Regions from separate parts of the Homo sapiens genome. Here all the other regions are linked to region 2. Evidence: promoter capture Hi-C in 16 types of primary human blood cells and fetal thymus (Javierre and others, 2016). All regions are on one chromosome and are shown on one strand. Each heading gives the region's core, a stretch centred on a gene start or on the middle of the fragment in contact. The rest is flanking DNA. Distances are from core to core; before and after follow the strand shown. Region 1 overlaps SLC35F2 (solute carrier family 35 member F2). Region 2 holds the start of ALKBH8 (alkB homolog 8, tRNA methyltransferase). Region 3 has its middle 12 kb from the start of SLN.

The links. The method cuts DNA at HindIII sites, captures the fragments that hold promoters and counts their contacts. A CHiCAGO score of 5 or more calls a contact.
Region 1: a fragment that was not itself captured here is called in contact with the fragment with the promoter of ALKBH8 in region 2 in 1 of 17 cell types (activated CD4 T cells); the score reaches 5.8 in activated CD4 T cells.
Region 3: a contact is called between a fragment that was not itself captured here and the fragment with the promoter of ALKBH8 in region 2, in 2 of 17 cell types (endothelial precursors and M2 macrophages). The highest score is 5.9, in endothelial precursors.

What each region holds. Positions count from the first base shown.
Region 1 is chr11:107,789,606-107,792,305 of GRCh38, forward strand. It overlaps SLC35F2 (solute carrier family 35 member F2), which reads right to left. Exons shown (of 8, transcript NM_017515.5): 8 at 1,386-2,700. Among named protein-coding and RNA genes, the nearest start is that of SLC35F2, 68 kb to the right of the region's middle. RefSeq lists a silencer at 970-1,179. The HindIII fragment of the contact is 818 bases long and covers 892-1,709 here.
Region 2 is chr11:107,564,467-107,567,166 of GRCh38, forward strand. It overlaps ALKBH8 (alkB homolog 8, tRNA methyltransferase), which reads right to left and starts at 1,269. Exons shown (of 12, transcript NM_138775.3): 1 at 1,135-1,269. RefSeq lists enhancers at 620-1,138, 942-1,431, 1,139-1,655, 1,502-1,561. The HindIII fragment of the contact is 7,705 bases long and covers 1-2,700 here.
Region 3 is chr11:107,698,800-107,701,524 of GRCh38, forward strand. No RefSeq gene overlaps it. Among named protein-coding and RNA genes, the nearest start is that of SLN, 12 kb to the right of the region's middle. The HindIII fragment of the contact is 712 bases long and covers 1,115-1,826 here.

The DNA.
Region 1 (2,700 bases), core at 51-2,550, 230 kb after region 2:
TGTTTGTTACGGCTCCAGCCGAGCCGTCCACCACTGCTGTTTGCTGCCGTTGCAGACCCACCATTGACTTCCACCCCTCCGGATCTGGCAGAGTGTCCACTGTGCTCCTGATCCAGCGAGGCGCCCATTGCTGCTCCTGATCAGGCTAAAGGCTCGCCATTGTTTCTGCATGACTAAGTGCCCAGGTTCATCCTAATCGAACTGAACACTAGTTGCTGGTTTCCACGGTTCTCTTCCGTGACCCACGGCTTCTAATAGAGCTTAACACTCACCACATGGCCCAAGGTTCCATTCCTTGGAATCCACTGAGGCCAAGAACCCCAGGTCAGAGAACAAAAGGCTTGCTGCCATCTTGGGTGTGGCCTGCCCCATCTTGGGAGCGGCCCACCACCATCTTGGGAGCTCTAAGAACAAAGACCTGCACGTAACAGTGCTGGGATTACAGGCTTGAGCCAGTGCACCCGGCCTACTTCCTTTTTCTAAAGTCCATCCTGGTGTATATGTATCCTAAACACCCAAATATGTAACCAAAGACTTTGTGAATGACCCTGCTCACCAAACAGCAACCTTGCAGGATCAGCAACTGCAGTTCTGACTGCGGCTGTCGCTGGTGTAAATAAAATGAAACAATGAGCAAAATAGCACAAATTTAAAACTAAACCATCAGTGTGCTAATCAAACTGAAAGTCTTCCTAAAAGAGCCAAACATTTTAACATAACCTTTCCCACTCTCATAGTTGTTAATGTTAGGGAGCAAAAACCAAACATCGATTGAAAAGGCAGTTTTAATTGGTTGCAGAAAATGAAAGGTTACTTCACTCAAAAAAGTAAAAAAAAACTCATTGTGGTAATTCAGAATTGGAAAATGTTTATTCCTGCAAATGATCGGTAAGCTTGCTCTGAATTCCCTGGAATCCCAGCATAGTCCCCAAATAGACAGGCTTGCCTCACCCCACAGAGGATACGACTCTGAAAAATTGAATATGAAGAAATACTGAATATGTCAAGTCATTCAAAATCCACAAGGAGGCCAGGCGTGGTGGCTCATGCCTGTAATCCCAGCACTTTGGGAGGCTGAGGTGGGTGGATCACTTGAGGTCAGTTCGAGACCAGCCTGGCCAACATGGTGATACCCTACTAAAAATACAAAAATTAGCTGGGCATGGTGGTGCATACCTGTAGTCCAGGTAGGAGAATTGCTGAACCCAGGAGGCAGAGGTTGCAGTGAGCTGAGATGGCACCACTGCACTCCAGCCTGGGCGACAGGACAAGACTCAAACAAAAAAAAAAGAAGAAAAAAAAATCCACAAGGGTTTTGAAGGACGGCTTTACTGGAAAAAAAATCCACAAGGGGAAATGGTTAATCAAAGAAACCACACAGTTGATGTATTTCCATGAATTCAAAGCCTTTTAATGATGTGAACACTTACTCCCCATTTCTTTTTTACATTGTTACAAAAAATTTACATACAGTTTTCTGAAAGTGGCATTTTGTTGGTTGTTATTATACTGATGACACATATTAACACTTTGTATTGAAGAAGTATCATAAAAATCACAGGGCATTACAGATTTTTGATAAGAAGTAGTAATAGCATTGTCTTTTAACAGCTGGAGGCTCCCAGGCATACTCTTTGGTGAGAAATGATTAATTTTATATTTTCATTTTGATGAGAATCTTTTCTTGTTTTTACCAGTTATAAAAACAAAGCTTTTTCTTTGTTGTGATACTGTGCACTAAGACTTAGTTTCTTGAGCTGATGCTAAATAAAATGAGATCAATAGGAATATTCCAGGAGGTCGTGAGAAGTTTTTAGAAAGGATGGCATCTACATATATATGGAGCTCTGAAAACTGTTGGAGAGTATGACCTGGGACTGAAACTGTGGAGCACATAGCCAGTGTCACAGGCTCCGAGAGCAGAGAGAGTTTGCTCTGGGACCTGGAATGAGTGATGGAGAAATGTTTTAAACAAACAAACAAACAGGCCAGGCACAGTGGTTCACATCTGTAATCCTAGCACTTTCGGAGGCCGAGGTGGGCAGATCGCTTTAGCTCAGGAATTTGAGATTAGCCTGGGCAACATGGCGAAACCCCATCTCTCTACAAAAACAAACAAAACAGGCCTGGCACGGTGGCTCAAGCCTGTAATCCCAGCACTTTGGGAGGTCGGGGCAGGCAGATCACTTGAGGTCGGGAGGTCAAGACCAGCCTGGGCAACATGGTGAAACCCCATGTCTACTAAAAATACAAAACTTAGCTGGGCGTGGGGCCACATGCTTTTGTAATCCCAGCTACTAACACTTGAATCCAGGAGGCAGAGGTTACAGTAAGCTGAGCTTGCACCACTGCACTCTAGACTCTGCATCTCAAACAAACAAAAAAACAATTGTGGGAAGGTTCCTAGGTTTACTGCACTCCAGTTTAATGCTTGTATAGTACTCACACTTATATCTCAAGACTTTTCAAGGGCTGACCCACCCGTTTTCTGCCACATGCAGTCAGCCCCAAGGCCTCATCTGTACCCAAAGGCCTGTGGACAATAACTGCCTCAGCAAAAAAAAAAAAAAAAAAAAACCTTGAAGCATCTGACAGAGGAAACGTACTCCAGAGCCACCGTGAGCTGCCCCTGTTCCTGACCACCAAGCCCAGCCTGGACAGCCTGCTTTCCCGCCCTGGCCTGAGGCTGGCTCAGTCCTG
Region 2 (2,700 bases), core at 19-2,518:
GTACGGCACTGGTATACAGAGTTTACATATAAATCTTTAGGACACACAAGAAATTGGTGATATGGGTTGCCTCCAGGGAAGGAAAATGGATCGATGAGTAAAGGAATGAAAGGGAGCTTTCTTCTTTCATGACTTTTGAAGTTAGTAGCTATTTAAACTGCATCATCTATTTAAAAAGAAAATAAAGATTTAAAATTTTTAGAAAAAAATTCACCCCATCACTTGTCACGGCACCCCGTTTTAACTCTTTGAATAACACTTACTACATATTTTCTTACACTCTCATTAATTTGTTTATTCTGTCTTTCCCCATAACTGAATAAAGAACACTCACTCCATGAAGTAGAGATTTTGTCTCTATTGTTCACCCTGTAGCACCCAGCACTTAAACAGGATTTAGCACCTAGCAGCCACTCAATAACCATTTGTCGAATAAACCTAAATCGACTTTGCTGTCTTACCTCCTAAACCTCCCCTCCTCCAGAATTCTGAGTTTGGTGGCCTTCTTCAACGTTTTCATTAACACCTAGCATGGACCTCTATCTCTAGAGTTCTCACATGGTATTATAATTGCCTGTTTGTGTTGGGCTTCGGCCAGAAAACTGTCATCTATTTAAGGGCACAGACTTGGTGCCTGACATACAACTGACAATAAATATTCAATGAAATCTATCAAAATAACAGGCTGACGCTACCAGAGGTCCAGGAGTCGCAGGGATTGCTCAAATAAGAGCACAGGAAGACTCAGCTGCGCAAGGGATCAGATCATCAGCACTGCCTTTGCATCGATGCAATCAGACCGATTGTCACCGGTCAGAAAAGCCCCAGAAGCGCCACACTAACACGCCCCATGTTGCAACCGTCCTCTCCAACCCCAAAGAAAACAGAAGATTGACACAGGCACCACGTGAGCGCCCGAACCAAACACAAACACATGCACCCTAAACACTGAGAGAACCACCCAACGCAGACACCCTACTGCCCACACTGCACCAAGGGCGCCTCTGGGATCCATCCCCTTTCCCTAGGTTCTCAGCCCTAGCTGGCAAGGCGGATAGAGAAGACCGGAAGAGGCTGAAAAGAGGAAGCGGTGATTTGCTGCCCGTATGCCCGCCAGTAAGAAGTGCCACACACCTCCGCTTCGGCTCAGGCCGGATTCTCACCATGCGTGTGCCTTCTTCTTTGCCAGCCTCTCCACTCTAGCACCAGAACACCGCAGCGGATACTTGCACGCCATCTCCCCTGGGCGCGGCCATGTTGGAGAAAACTGCACTACATTTCCCATGAGCCCGCGGGACAACGAACAGCGCTCCCACAGTCCTCTTCGCCTCCCAGAGCCCGGGAGTGACCCTTTTTCGACCAAGTGTCTTTGTAAAGTGCTGTCTGTTACACTGAAAATTCAGTTGTCTTTTTGGGGGGAGTAGTAATAATTGGTAGTGCAGCTATATTTTTATCTGTTGCTCTCCAAATGGACAAGGTCAAACAGGTTTGGGCCCTTTGGTCTTTCAGCAATGTCCCCTGGCACCTTCTATTCTTCGTGCATATTTCCTCCTGAATCTTATTAGAGGTGAGAAAGGAAAATAAATCTTGGTGCCACAAAATCACTAAGCTAAAGGGAAAAGTCAAGCTAGGAACTGCTTGGGCAAACCTGCCTCCCATTCTATTCAAAGTCATCCCTCTGAGTCATCCCTCTGCTCACTGAGATAAATGCATATCTGATTGCCTCCTTTGGAAAGGCTCATCAGAAACTCAAAAGAATGCAACCATTTGTCTCTCAGCTGTAATACGTGCGACCTGGAAGCCCCCTCCTCACTTTGAGTTGGCCCGCCTCTGCTTCAATTTGTCCCTCCTTTCTGGACGGAACCAATGTTCATCTTACATATATTGATTGATGCCTCATGTCTCCCTAAAATGTATAAAACCAAGCTGTGCCCCGACCACCCTGGACACATATCATCAGGACCTCCTGAGGCTGTGTCACGGGCGGGCGTCCTTAACTTTGGCAAAATAAATTTCCTAAATTGTCTGAGACCTGTCTCAGATATTCAGGGTTCACAGAGATATGGGAGAGGATCCTGGGGTCTGAAAGATGGCATTGCATGGGCGGGAGGGAAGGAAGTGAATATGCATGAATGTGCCAGGGGAATGGTGAGTACCACAGAGTAATAGAAAGATGTGTGGAAGAATGGTGAAGGAAGCAAGACAGAATTCTGTAGGCCTGCAGAGTGGGAGTTGCAGGGAGGAAGGTTAGAGAAATGAAATGATATGACCAGAGCTTCTTGTGGCAAGTGGGAGGAGAGACTAGAAGATGACTGATGAAGTGAAAAGTAACGAAATATTAACAAGCCCAGTAGTGGCAGAGGGAAAGAAAAAAGAGCTGGTAACAGATCATAAGTAAAAGACAAAGGAGAGGGTGATGATTAGCAGTTGTTCCTGCTCTGTTATTTGTTATATAAATGTACCATAATCCTTCTACCTGCATTGGTTTATGAGCTATGTGAGTGCAGGGAGGGAAAGGTGTAGGGGAAGAGGAATCACCTTCCCATGTTGTTGATACAATGGCCCCTATCTGCAGTGCACCACAGTGGACTAACAATAAAATAGCTGGCTGACCAGGAAAAGTGGCAGTGAAAAAAGAGTGCTGTTGAGTGGCGGAATGATTTGTGTGGAGAATAGGTTACAAACATGAAAGAACAGAAG
Region 3 (2,725 bases), core at 221-2,720, 130 kb after region 2:
TTCACATCAGCCATTGTGGCATCAGAATAAACATATCTATGACACTGAAAATACTAGGAAAAGATGAAAAAGACAAGATGAAACCACATACAGAGGTCTTCAAGGGAAATACATTTATTTCACTATGTACATCTTTCTCAGGAGCAGAATGCTGTATGGCTCAGAGACTAATCATTAGTCGTATTACATGTCTGAGATGTGCCCTTTCTTTTTTAAAAAATTTTTTAATTAAAAAAAATAGAGATGAGGTCTCACTATGTTGCCCAGGCTGGTCTTGAACTCCTGAACTCAAGCAATCCTCCCAGCTGGACCTTCCAAAGTGCTAGGATTACAGACGTGAGCCCCCATTCCTGGCCTGTGATTTTTTTTTTTTTTTTTTTTTTTTTTTTTTTTGAGACAGAGTCTCGCTCTGTTGCCCACGCTGGAGTGCAGTGGCGCGATCTCGGCTCACTGCAAGCTCCGCCTCCCGGGTTCACGCCATTCTCCTGCCTCAACCTCCCAAGTAGCTGGGACTACAGGTGCCCGCCACCGCGCCCGGCTAATTTTTTGTATTTTTAGTAGAGACGGGGTTTCACCGTGTTAGCCAGGATGGTCTCAATCTCGTAACCTCGTGATCTGCCAGCCTCGGCCTCCCAATGTACTGGGATAACAGGCGTGAGCCACCGCGAGTGTCATTCAAAATGAACTGGTCTGAAACCATGCTTAAAGCCAGTGACATATGGTATAATTCAAAATGTGTCTCAGGTTGGCAGTCTCTCAAATTGCATGTGACTGTCTCTCATTTCCAAAATCAAGATAGTATGATGCATGAGATCAAATCCAATCTTCCAAGTTCGGCTTCCCACTGATTCTGCTGGTCTGCAATATGAATGTGACCCCAGTCATTCTGACAGGATGGGGTAGGGATGGAAATGGTGACTTACAAAAAGGGCCTTGCAATGTTGCCAATGGAGCTCTTTCACTCACAGAGACATCTCAAAATTGATTGCGAGACGCTATGAATGCCTTGTCATTCTGAATGAATGGAAAGCTCAGTGTGGATGTGGCAAACAACAGGAGCTGCTTTCGTGTTGAATCGTCAAATAATCACCATAAAACCTCTGGGCATCTGAAAAGCTTGCCATTGTGAAGTCGAATTAGCTTAGGACTTGGCAGGGTGTTTGTGATGTGGGTGGTGGGTATCACCATGCATGTCATCATTGTAGACACAGCATGTGTTGAAAATAGACTTCTTTCTCCATGTCCTTTTTGAAGCAGTGTCAGAGGAATATAAAATGAGTATGTTGTTGGAAGAGAGACAGCTCACAGTTGGATCTGGATCAGGCAGTATTGGCTGGAACCTGTGAACACTGCCCCGAGACAGATATCTTATCATGCAGACCCTGGCTGGAATTGCTGCTGTTGAGAAAACTCATTTTTTACTTACTTTCCCAGAGAGAAAGTCACAAGATTCGGAATTTTTTAAGTCTGAGGTCTAAAGTAGAGACTGTTTTATGCTGATTTTTAATCCTTGGGTGTAATCTGACTGCCCGGAAAAGTGAAAGCCAAAAGGAGACATAATTTGGAAACACCTATTGATGTTTAATATCTGTAAAGCCATTAAAATTGGAATGACAGTTCCAGCATCTTCATTGAAAATATGTCAAAATAGAACTCTTGCATACAAGTTAATACACTATATAACTTCAGGTTTAAAAAATAACTTTTATTAAGTGGCATCGTAGACAGGGTTTGAATCTCCAAGTACAACAGGGCAAACTTGTTTGGGAGAGAATAAAGACCCAGTGTGGGAACAGACTAGGAATGGGGGTAAAGGGTGCAAGGAAAGCTTTTCCTGGAGAGATGGGAAGATAAAGAATGTACTTTTGCAGTTCAAAGGGATGGGGGTAAGAATTTTGCAACCTCTCCGGAAAAGTGGAATTTTGTGAACTTCTCAGTCCAACCAGAGCCCAAGTTCTTGAAAACAGTAGAAATGCAGGGCTGGGAGCTATGGCTTGCTCCTATGATCCCAGCACTTTGGGAGGCTGAAGCGGTAGAATCACTTGGGCCCAGGAATTTGAGACCAGCCTGGAAAACACAGGGAGAATCCATCCCTACAAAAAAAAAAAAAAAAAAATACAAAAATTAGCCAGGTGTGGTGGTGCATGTTTGTGGTCCCAGCTACTGGGGAGGCTGAGGTGGGAAGATCGCCTGGGCCCAGGAGGTGAAGGCAGCAATGGGCCGTGATCTTACCACTGCACTCCAGCCTGGGGAACAAAGTAAGACTCCTGTCTGAAAGAAAAAAAAAAAGAGCAGAAATGCAAATCTTGGGTGCTGGTGCGGGAGGATGTTGTAGATCTGGGATTCTCAAACTTTAGTGACTATAACAATCACCTGGGGAGCTGGCTTAAAACATAGCAAGCCAGATCCCACTCTCAGAAGTTCCCTGGCAGTAGTTCTGGAGTTGGTGCAGGAATCTGCAATTGAAAAAGTATTTTGAGTATTGTAATTCAAGTAGTTCTTGCATTTTGAGAAATACATTGTATTCTTCATGAGCAAAGGGATTCTACAATTCAGTATCCCTATCCCTTTCCCCTGCTAAAGAAAGAAAAAAAGAAGCCACAACTTTCTCAAAGTGTTTTATTATCCTCTTAGAAGAAATAGTGTTGAAATAGCAGCAGCAGCAACCACCACCCCACCACCAATCCTTGATGCTTTCTTTAAAAGTGTACTAAAATCTTTGGCT